4 separate regions of the Homo sapiens genome follow, and regions 2, 3 and 4 are each linked to region 1. Evidence: promoter capture Hi-C in human tissues and cell types (Jung and others, 2019). All regions are on one chromosome and are shown on one strand. The core of a region is centred on a gene start or on the middle of the fragment in contact, and the rest is flanking DNA. Distances in the headings are between cores, read along the strand shown.

Region 1 (2,700 bases), core at 22-2,521:
TACAGATATTAAAATGACTTAATTCTCAAAACATGAAGTGAGTTTTTGTTTTTATGCCCGTTTTGCAGATGAGAAAACTGAGGCATAGGGAAGGTAAGTAACGCGCTTAAGGTTACATAGCTGGTAAATTGTAGCCAGGAGTTGGAATCTAGGTGCCAAAATCTATGCTGTTAATCACTAAACTACGCTGCCTTAGTTTTTATACTTCTTTAGGAACCTCAGACCAAAAGAAATTTAGGCAATTCTAATAGAACAAGCAAGAATTTGCTAATCACAGCTTCCTTGCCCCAATCCTTTAATCGGCTTCATTTTCACTGACTTCTTTTTTAAATGAAGATAACAATGTTGTTGAACAGGATCATCTAGTGGTTAGTGGTTCGGCATAAGAATGACTCGCTTCTGAAGCTCAGCTCTAGCACTCGCTTGCTGTATGACCTTGAGAAAGTTACCTCCCCAAGTCTGTTTCCTCATCTTTAAAAGAGAGGTTATAATAGGACCCACATCATACTATTGTTTAAAGAGAAAACAACGTAGCCCATTTAAAGCACTTAGAAAGTGCTCCATAAATATTATTAGTGTAATAAATAGCAGCAACATCAATAAAGTATGAACCAAATGATCTCTTGATTCGTATCCTAACACTAAAAATGGTTTATTTCCCTTCTAATTAAAAGAGAATTACAACAACCAAAACAACAAACGAAACTATAGCCATAAAATCAATTATATCGTCTGTGAGAAAACCGGAAAGGCTATTGGACACATTAATTCACTTGTCATCAGTCATCCCCTCTATTCCAAAATGTTTGTGTTCTAACATCCTGAGACACCTTGCATAATATAATCACTGTGACTCCAAGAGGTCAAATGGGCAGGCAGTTAATGCTTCTCTGTGAAAAGCTCAATAATTCATTTTATAAATTTCAGTTTAAAGCCTGCGTTGAGGTTAAGAAAAATTGACGTTCGGTCTGTGAACTTAATGTCAAGCTCCAGAAAAACTCTGGGCAGCACATGTTTAGCAATTAAGTGGACACAGACAATAAAGACGTTGCCAAATTGTAAAACAAGACTTGGAAATCACAGAAAATGTTGCTAGTTATTGATCACGGTGACCATTCAGTTCCTACTGAGCCACCCAAAAGAATCATTCATTTTCCAGCAGAGAGCCTGCTCATTTGCAAGATAAAAGAGAGACATTTCTGCACATGCCCATAATGTTCTTCACCACTGGGGGCAGCTTTACATAAGACTGCATTCACTGAAACCAAAGCAACAGTCCGAGCAGCTTTCAGAATGACAGTCTGCAGAAGTGAGCTGAGCGTGTGCGCGGTACGGGGCTCTCCTGCCTTCTGGGCTCCAACGCAGCTCTGTGGCTGAACTGGGTGCTCATCACGGGAACTGCTGGGGTATGGAATACAGATGTGGCAGCTCAGGTAGCCCCAAATTGCCTGGAAGAATACATCATGTTTTTCGATAAGAAGAAATTGTAGGATCCAGTTTTTTTTTTAACCGCCCCCTCCCCACCCCCCAAAAAACTGTAAAGATGCAAAAACGTAATATCCATGAAGATCCTATTACCTAGGAAGATTTTGATGTTTTGCTGCGAATGCGGTGTTGGGATTTATTTGTTCTTGGAGTGTTCTGCGTGGCTGGCAAAGAATAATGTTCCAAAATCGGTCCATCTCCCAAGGGGTCCAATTTTTCTTCCTGGGTGTCAGCGAGCCCTGACTCACTACAGTGCAGCTGACAGGGGCTGTCATGCAACTGGCCCCTAAGCCAAAGCAAAAGACCTAAGGACGACCTTTGAACAATACAAAGGATGGGTATGTTTTGTCATTTTTCTTCTTTCCTTCTTAAAAACAAAAAACAAAAAACCTCTAGTGTGTGTAATAATTCTGCCTTAATTATTTTAGAGATTACCTTGCTCTGCTCTAAGACTATGAATTTATTTGCTTAGTGGCATGTTTCCTTGTTTAACTATTTAAAAAAACAAAACACTAAAGACAATTCTCTTTAATTACAAAGAGATAATATGTGATGTTAAGTGTTATTTAGATTTAAATTTTTAAAAATGAAAAATATATGCCTATTTTTGCTTGATTAAGGATTAATTCTTTTTTGGGGGGATAACTTTTCTAAGTTGTTTTTATTTCCAGGTTTCAATGTAATTAGGCTACTGAGCGGATCAGCTGTAGCACTGGTTATAGCCCCCACTGTCTTACTGACAATGCTTTCTTCTGCCGAACGAGGATGCCCTAAGGGCTGTAGGTGTGAAGGCAAAATGGTATATTGTGAATCTCAGAAATTACAGGAGATACCCTCAAGTATATCTGCTGGTTGCTTAGGTTTGTCCCTTCGCTATAACAGCCTTCAAAAACTTAAGTATAATCAATTTAAAGGGCTCAACCAGCTCACCTGGCTATACCTTGACCATAACCATATCAGCAATATTGACGAAAATGCTTTTAATGGAATACGCAGACTCAAAGAGCTGATTCTTAGTTCCAATAGAATCTCCTATTTTCTTAACAATACCTTCAGACCTGTGACAAATTTACGGAACTTGGATCTGTCCTATAATCAGCTGCATTCTCTGGGATCTGAACAGTTTCGGGGCTTGCGGAAGCTGCTGAGTTTACATTTACGGTCTAACTCCCTGAGAACCATCCCTGTGCGAATATTCCAAGACTGCCGCAACCT
Region 2 (2,700 bases), core at 195-2,694, 300 kb before region 1:
GTGTTGATGGGAGTATATTTCATTCAACTACTTTAGAGACCTCATTGCAGTATTCTGTTCCCTCTGGAGTTTCATAGAAAATTGACATCAGTTGGGAGATCTCAGCTGCAGGTCCTCTAGATCCCACTTTTCCAGCTTGTTCTTACTTGTTAATCAACATTAAGTCCAAAGAAGCAGTTTCCTTCACAGTTTCCTTAATATTCTTAGAGATGAAATTGTCAGCAAGGCAAATCAATAATTTAACACATGCCCTACTTTTTGTAGACTGAGAATCTCAGGAGACGTCCAGAGACTTAAAGTCCCTAATCTTTGTTATTTTTCTCATCCTTATAACATTTGTGGTCTTTATTAGGAAGTATCCGTATTATATCCTGCTTCTTCTCAGATAAGAGTGTTTAAAATTTCTCTATGTGTATCTTGATTCATGGCTTCAAAACCATTTGTCATGTAGAAATAATTCCCTAAAAGTGTGTCACTCTTCAGATTTTAAGAAACATCTGAATTACCGACAAGAAAATATTTCTTAACTTTTTTCAAACCGATACCTTCTTTGATAAAAGAAAAAAAGAGTCAATTCTTTCAGCTGATTTGAAATTTCAAAATAAATAATTACTAAAAATAAATCAAATCATTTGGACAAAGCACCTTTGCCTCAGGAGATTCCAATATGGCCACTTAAAGAATGTCAGTCTTTTTCTCTACTCTCTTTTTAAGAATCGCCTTAGGACAATTCTGTCTTCCATGCTTCAAATAAACATTTTGGCTGGGCACGGTGGCTCACGCCTGTAATCCCAACAGTTTGGGAGGCCGAGGTGGGCAGATCACTTGAGGTCAGGAGTTCGAGACCAGCCTGGCCAACATGGTGAAACCCCATCTCTATTAAAAATACAGAAATTAGCCAGGCATGGTGGCGCATGCCTGTAATCCCAGCTACTCAGGAAGCAGAAGTTGCAGTCAGTCGAGATTGCGCCACTGCATTCCAGCCTGGGCAACAGAGCGAGACCTGGTCTCAAAAAAAAAAAAAGAAAAAAAAATAGTGTATTTTCATATGCATAAAAGCATTAGGAATTATATATAATTTTACACACAAAAAGTAACTTAGTTGTCATACCTGTGGACACAAGGTTTCCAAATGATTGGCTGCAATTTTGACAATTTTAATTCCATCTTCATTTGTTGACATGGAACAAGCAAGATTTGCCACCTTAAATACAATCCAAAATAATGGAAATTATTTTAGATTAGCAAGGAAATGCAGCAACACTTATACTGAACAAGAACATGTACACATTCATCAAGAATCTCAATGACAAATAACATTCTCAAAATCATCACTGGTATCTATTTTATGAAAGAATTCAGAGAATCTATTAAAGCAAATAACAATAAAAGGACCTAGATAATTGTTTAAAATGAGGAGAGACTAGTGAGAGAATCAGTAAACCCTATACAGTCTCTTGGTATCAACATCTAACCCATAATAAGAAGCTATTGTGAGACTGGAAAAACAAAAGTTTATCTGTGGATTGAATGCTAATAGGTTTTTGGAATCTCATATGATTGTGATTTATTTTAAATTTGTAATTGGTTTATTATTTCCCAGAGGTCTATTACTCATATTTAAGTTGCATTAAGTATGACTGTATCTTTATACATTTTGTTTGCATCAAATATACTACAAAGCTGAACAAATACAAGATAATTAACTTCTTCCTGCTCTTGATTTTCCACTACAACTTCATGGGCACTGTTTGACATTCCTGCAGTGCATTTGATTCAAGCATTAGTGACACCCAAATTTCTCTTATATTATTGCTTTTGAAATTTACATTTTCTTCCAACAAAATGAGTGCTGTTTTAATTACCATTATGTCCATGACCTAAATCCAAGGTTTACAAATACTTTCTTCAGACCATGAAAGAGCCATGATGAAGAGTGAGAGGTTATTTTCCCTTCCTCTGCACCCCACTCTTGTTCAAGATTCTTCTTACTAACACAGTAAGGCTTATGGACAGAGGCAATGTTTTCTCTGATCTACAAAATATCTCATTGTCTTTATCATTGCAAGGATTTACTTTATCTAACAGTAATTTTTCTAACTTTTAAAATATCTCTGTCAGTTGTTTTATACTTTAACGCATTGCAGTTTTTCCTGCTAAGATCTAAAATACATCCAGTTGCGGAGAAACTACGCATTAGCCACATGCAGTGGAAATAAACAACATATGACTTTGGATCACTATTTTAAAAGTACCACAAAATGTTATTTAAATGGATTTACAGTCTTTGCTTTTTTATAACATTTCTTTTAATATGCCAATAGTGAAATAACTCCTCGGTTTTCATTCACATATAATGAAATAACAGCCATACATTATTTAACTGTGGAAGGGCATTGCTCACTTTATTAATGTACATGGGGATGGCTTACTTGAAAAGGTCTTTTGTTGGCTTGAAGGTCACAATGCCTCAACTTTCATAATTTCTGACACATAATTAGCACATTTGTGAGTTGTTTGAAAAGGGCAACAGTTTCTGTGCCCCTTTCCACTCCCCAAACCCCAATCACTAAAAGTGAAACTTGACAGTCTAATTGCTTTAATTTGTATTATATTAATTCACACTGCATTTGCAAAAAATACTGACCTGTAAAATTGAGCACTGTTTGTTTAAAGTAAAAAAATAAAAATAAAAATAAA
Region 3 (2,700 bases), core at 17-2,516, 340 kb before region 1:
CTGGTTTCCGATGAGAGATCCAGTGTCATCTGAACGTTCTTTTTTCCACAGAGAATGTGATATTTATTTCTGACTGCTTTAAACATTTGTCTTTAATTTTCAGAAGTTTGTCTATGGTGTGATTTCATGTGGATTTCTTTGGGCTTATCATGTTTGGGGTTTGCATTATAGTCCCATACATTTCTGAGGTTGTGTTTTGTTTTTGTTTTCTTTAAAGTCTATTTTGTCCCTGTTGTTTACATTGTGTAATTTCTATTTGTATTATTTTTCAATGGACTGGTTCTTTTCTCTGTCTCCTCTGTTCAGCTATTGAGCCCATATGTTGACTTTTTAAATTATTATTTTATTGGTTAATATTTTTAGTTCTAACATTTCTATTTCATTCTTCTTTGATTTCTTTGCTGTAACATTCTATTTTTTTATTCTCCTTTGGTGACATTCTTCCCCTTTGCTTATTTTTATTTTTAATTTTTATGGCTACATAATTGTACATATTAATGGGGTACATGTGCTATCTTGATATGAGCATACAATGTATAATAAAATCTAGGTAATTTGAATATCGATTATCTCAAACATTTATCATTTCTTTGTGTTGGGAACATTCCAAATCTTCTCTTCAACCAATTTTGAAATAGGTGATATTTTTTCATTTGTTCAAGGATGTTTATGATTGTTCATTCATTTTTATGATGGCTACTTTGAAATCTTTGTAAGATAATTCTAACATCGCTGTCATCTATTAAATGTATTTTTTTATTCAGCTTGAGATCTTCCTGGTTCTTGATATGACAAGTGATGTTTGAATGAGATGGAGACATTTTGGTTATTATGTTAAAAGACTATGGATCATATTTAAAATTCTGGATCACATTTCTGCTTTAGTTGGCTTCTTCTGAAACTGCTTTGGCAGAGGAAGAAGAGGGTTGCCTCATTACTGCCTGGTGAGGGTAATCTTTAGGGGTAAAAGTGGTTCTCAGTTACATGGATGAATTGTATAATGGTGAAGTCTAGGATATTAGTGCATGCATTATCTGAATAGTGCATATTGTACTCAATAGGTAGTTTTTCATTTTTACCCCCTCACCCCTTTTAAGTCTTCGATGTCTATTATACCACTTGGTATGCCTTTGCATACCCATAGCTTAGCTCCCACTTATAAGAGAGAACCTTCAGTATCTCGTTTTCAATTCCTGAGTTACTTCACTTAGAATAATGGCCTCTAGTTCCAACCAAGTTGCCACAAAATACATTATTCCATTCTTTTTATGGCTGAGTAGTATTCCATGATAACATACATCACATTTTCTTTATCCACTCATCAGTTAATGGACATTTAGGTTGACTGCATATCTTTGCAATTGTGAATTGTGCTGCAATAAACATATGCACACAGGCATCTCTTTGATATATTCATTCCTTTTCTTTTGGGTAGATACCCAGTAGTGAGATTCCTGGATCAAATGGTAGATCTACTTTTAGCTTTGAGAAATCTCCATACTCTTTTCCATAGAGGTTGTACTAATGTGTATTTCCACCAGCAGCATATAAGTGTTCCTCTTTCACCACGTCCACCCGAGCATCTTTTGGGGATTTTTTTTTTTGACTTTTTAATAATGGTTATTCTGGCTCGGGTAAGGTGGTATACATTGTGGTTTTAATTTGCATTTCCTTGACAATTAGTGATGTTGAGCATTTATTCATATGTTTTTGACCATTTGTATATTTTTTGAGAAATATCTATTCATGTCTTTTGTCCACATTTCAGTTTTTAAGTTGTCTGTTTACTGTAATGATTATTTATTTTGCTGTGAAGAAGCTTTTTAGTTTGAGTCCTATTCATTATTTTTGTTTTGTTGGATTTGCTTTTAGGGGTCTTAGTTATAAATTATTTGCCTATGCTGGTGTCCAGAAGAGTTTTTCCTAGGTACTCTTCTAGATCTTTTATGGTTTCAGGTCTTAGCTTCAGGTCTTTAGGTCTTTAGTCAAGGTAAAGTTAATTTTTGTATCTAGTGAGAGACAGAGATCCACTGTCTTTCTTCTACATGTGACTATGCAATTTTTCTAGCACCCTTTATTGAACAGAATGTCCTTTCCCCGATTTATGTTTTTGTATGTTTTATCAAAGATCAGTTGGTTTTAAGTATTTGGCTTTATTTCTGAGATCTCTATTATATTCCATTGATCTACTTTTATACCAGTACCATGCTGATTTGGTTACGTTAGCCTTGTAGTAAAATTTCAAGTTAGGTAATGTGATGCCTCCAGATTTGTTCTTTTCGTTTAGGTTGCTTTGACTATTTGGGCTATTTTTTGGTTCCATGTGAATTTTAGGATTGATTTTTCTAATTCTGTAAAAAATAGTGTTGGTAATTTGATAGAAATTGCATTGAATCTGTAGATTGCTTTGGAGTGTATGGTCATTTTCATGATATTGATTGTTCTAACCCATGAGCAAAGAATGTATTTCCATTTGCTTTTGTCATCTACAATTTCTTTCAGCCGTGTTTTATTTTTCTTGTAGAGATACTACACCTCCTTGGTTAAGTATGTTCTAGCATATTTTATCTTTTTGTAGCTACTGTAAAAGGGATTGAGTTTTTTATTTGATTTTCAGCTTGGTTGTTGTTGATGTATAGCAGTGATACTGATTTATGCACACTGGTTTTGTAATGAGATTTTGCTGAATTCATTTATCAG
Region 4 (2,700 bases), core at 180-2,679, 410 kb before region 1:
TTGGTTAAATTTATTTCTAAGTGTCTTTTTTTGTAGCTACTGCAAGTAGGATTGCATTTTTAAATTCTTTTTCACCTAGTTCATTACTGGTATATAAAATACTAATTATTTTTGTATGTTGATTTTTTTTATCCTGAAATTTTAATGAATTCATTTGCCAGTTTTAAGAGTATTTTGGCAGAGTCATTACATTTTTCTATTTATGAGAACATGTTGTTTGCAAAGAGGGACAATTTGACTTCCTCTTTTCCAATGTGGATGGCAATTTCTTACTTTCTTTTTCCTAATTGTTATGTGCTAGGACTTCTAGTACTATGTTGAATAAGAGTAGTGAAAGTGAGCATCCTTGTCTTCTTCCAGTTCTTAGAGAAAAAGCTTCCAGTATTTCTTCATTCAGTATAATGTTAGCCATGGGTTTGTCATATATGGTCTTTATTGTGTTGAGGTATATTCCCTCTATGCCTAATTTGTTAAGAATTTTTTATCATAAAGGGATGATGAATTTTATTAAAAGATTTTTCTGTCTATTGAGATAATATGTTTTTAAAATTTTATATTGTTAATGTGATGCATTACATTTATTGATTTGCATATATTGAACTATCCTTGTATCCTTGGAATAAATTCTACTTGATTAGGTTCATTATGTTTTTGACGTGCTGTTGGGTTCTATTTTCTAGTATTTGGTTGAGGGTGTTTAAATCTATCTTCATCAGACATATTGGCCCATAGTTTTCTTTTTTTGTTGTGCCCTTGTCTGGTTTTATTATCAGGGTAATGCTAGCTTCACAGAATTAATTAGGAAGAATTTCTTAATCCTCAATTTTTTGGAATAGTTTGAGAAAAAATGGTGTTAGTTATTTAAAAGTTTGCTAGAATTCATTAGTGAATCCATCTGGTCTTGGACTTTTCTTTTTTGAGAGACTTTTTGTTACTGATTTAATCTTCTTATTTGTTATTGGTCTGTTTGATTCTGTTCATTTTTGGTTCAATCTTGGTATTTTATACTTGTGTCTAGGAATGTATCCATTTCCTTTATGTTTTTTAATTTGTTGGTGTATAGTTGTTCCTAACAGTCTCTAATGATCCTCTGTATTTTTGTGGTGTCAGTTGTAATATCTCATTGTTCATTTCTGATATTATTTATTTAGGTCTTTTTCTTAATCTATATAATAGTTTGTTGATTTGGTTTACTTTTCAAAAACTAACTTTTTTCATGAATCTTTTGTTTGCTTTTTTGCCTCTAATTTGTTTCATTCTGTGCTGATCTTTATTATTTATTTTCCTCTATTAACTTTGGGTTTGGCGTGTTCTTGCTTTTCTATTTTTTGAGGTGTATCACTAGGTTATTTGAAATCTTTTTTTTTTTATATAGGTGCTTATTCCTTTAAACTTCCCTCTTGTACTATTTTTTCTGTGTTCCATAGGTTTTTTGGTATGTCTTGTTTCTGTTTTCATTTCTTTCAAGAAGTATTTAAAATTTCCTTCTTAATTTCTTCATTAACTCATTTGTCATTCAGGAGAATGTTGTTTAATTTTTATGTATTTTTACAGTTTCCAGTGTTCCTCTTGTTATTGATTTCTAATTATAATCCACTGAAACCTGAGAATACATGGTATAATTGCATTTTTGAAAAAATTATTTAGAGTTGTTTTGGGCCTAACATAGGGTCTACCCTAGAGAATGTTCCATCTGCTGATGAGAAGAATGTACATTTTGTAGCCATTGGAAAAAATGTTCTGTAAATGTCTATTAGGTTCATTTGGTATAAAATGAAGCTTAAGTACAATGTTTCTTTGTTGACTTTCTGTATAGATTAGCTGTGCAATGCTGAGGGTGAGGAGGGTGAGGTGTTAAAGTTCTCAACTATTATTACATTGGTGTCTCTATCTCTCTCTTTAACTATAATAATATTTGCCCTATATATCTGAGTGCTCTGGTGTTCGGTGGATATATATTAACAATTGTTCTTTCCTCTTGCTGAATTGATTTTTTAATCACTATATAATGACCTCTGTGTCTTTTTATCTTTTTATTTTTAATAAAAGTCTATTTTGTCTGATATAAGTTTGCTACTTTTGCACACTTTTTGTTTGCATTTGCAGCAAATATCTTGTTTAATCTGTTCTGTTATAGTCTATGTGTGTTTTTAAATGAGAAGTGAGTTTCACAAGCAGCAAATAGTTGGGTCTCAGTTTTTTAATTCAGCCAGTTTATATATTTCAATTAGGGAATTTAAACGGTTTACATTTAAGGTTGTTATTGATAAGATGAGGATTTATTCTTGTCATTTTGTTAGTTGTTTTGTAATTGCTCTGTATAGCCTTAGTTCCTTTCTTCTTTTATTATTTTTGTGGTTTGGTGGTTTTCTGTAGTGATAAAATTTTATTCCTTTCTTTTTCTCATTTGCATATCTGCTTTACCAGTGAATTGTATACTTTCATGTTTTTCCTTAATTGATAGGTAACATCTACCAATGATATAGACACATATCTGCTTTTGCTTAATTGATAGATAACATCCTTTCGCTTTCAGAGGTTGGAGTCCCTTAAGCATTTCTTGTAGGTTCAGTTTAACAGTGATTAATTCCCTCAGTCTTTGTATGTCTGGGAAAATTTTATGTCTCCTTCATTTCTAAAGAATAGCTTTATGGTTTATAGTATTCTTAGTTGAAAGTTTTTTCTTTTTTTTATTCCAGC

The links. The method cuts DNA at HindIII sites, captures the fragments that hold promoters and counts their contacts. A contact is called where the count stands out against the background at its distance.
Region 2: a contact is called between a fragment that was not itself captured here and the fragment with the promoter of LRRTM3 in region 1, in 2 of the 25 tissues and cell types used here (heart left ventricle and mesendoderm cells).
Region 3: a contact is called between a fragment that was not itself captured here and the fragment with the promoter of LRRTM3 in region 1, in 1 of the 25 tissues and cell types used here (hippocampus).
Region 4: a contact is called between a fragment that was not itself captured here and the fragment with the promoter of LRRTM3 in region 1, in 2 of the 25 tissues and cell types used here (H1 embryonic stem cells and heart left ventricle).

Annotation. Positions count from the first base shown.
Region 1 is chr10:66,924,765-66,927,464 of GRCh38, forward strand. LRRTM3 (leucine rich repeat transmembrane neuronal 3) reads left to right here and starts at 1,272. Exons shown (of 3, transcript NM_178011.5): 1 at 1,272-1,823; 2 at 2,157-2,700. The coding sequence starts at 1,820. The region is part of intron 7 of CTNNA3 (catenin alpha 3); the gene reads right to left. The region is part of intron 3 of LOC101928961 (a long non-coding RNA gene); the gene reads right to left. RefSeq lists an enhancer at 659-1,515 and a silencer at 1,135-1,244. The HindIII fragment of the contact is 13,899 bases long and covers 1-2,700 here.
Region 2 is chr10:66,620,581-66,623,280 of GRCh38, forward strand. It overlaps CTNNA3 (catenin alpha 3), which reads right to left. Exons shown (of 18, transcript NM_013266.4): 10 at 1,112-1,204. Among named protein-coding and RNA genes, the nearest start is that of LRRTM3, 300 kb to the right of the region's middle. The HindIII fragment of the contact is 3,367 bases long and covers 1-2,700 here.
Region 3 is chr10:66,579,821-66,582,520 of GRCh38, forward strand. All of the region lies in intron 10 of CTNNA3 (catenin alpha 3), which reads right to left. Among named protein-coding and RNA genes, the nearest start is that of LRRTM3, 340 kb to the right of the region's middle. The HindIII fragment of the contact is 4,956 bases long and covers 1-2,700 here.
Region 4 is chr10:66,510,115-66,512,814 of GRCh38, forward strand. All of the region lies in intron 11 of CTNNA3 (catenin alpha 3), which reads right to left. Among named protein-coding and RNA genes, the nearest start is that of LRRTM3, 410 kb to the right of the region's middle. The HindIII fragment of the contact is 5,099 bases long and covers 1-2,700 here.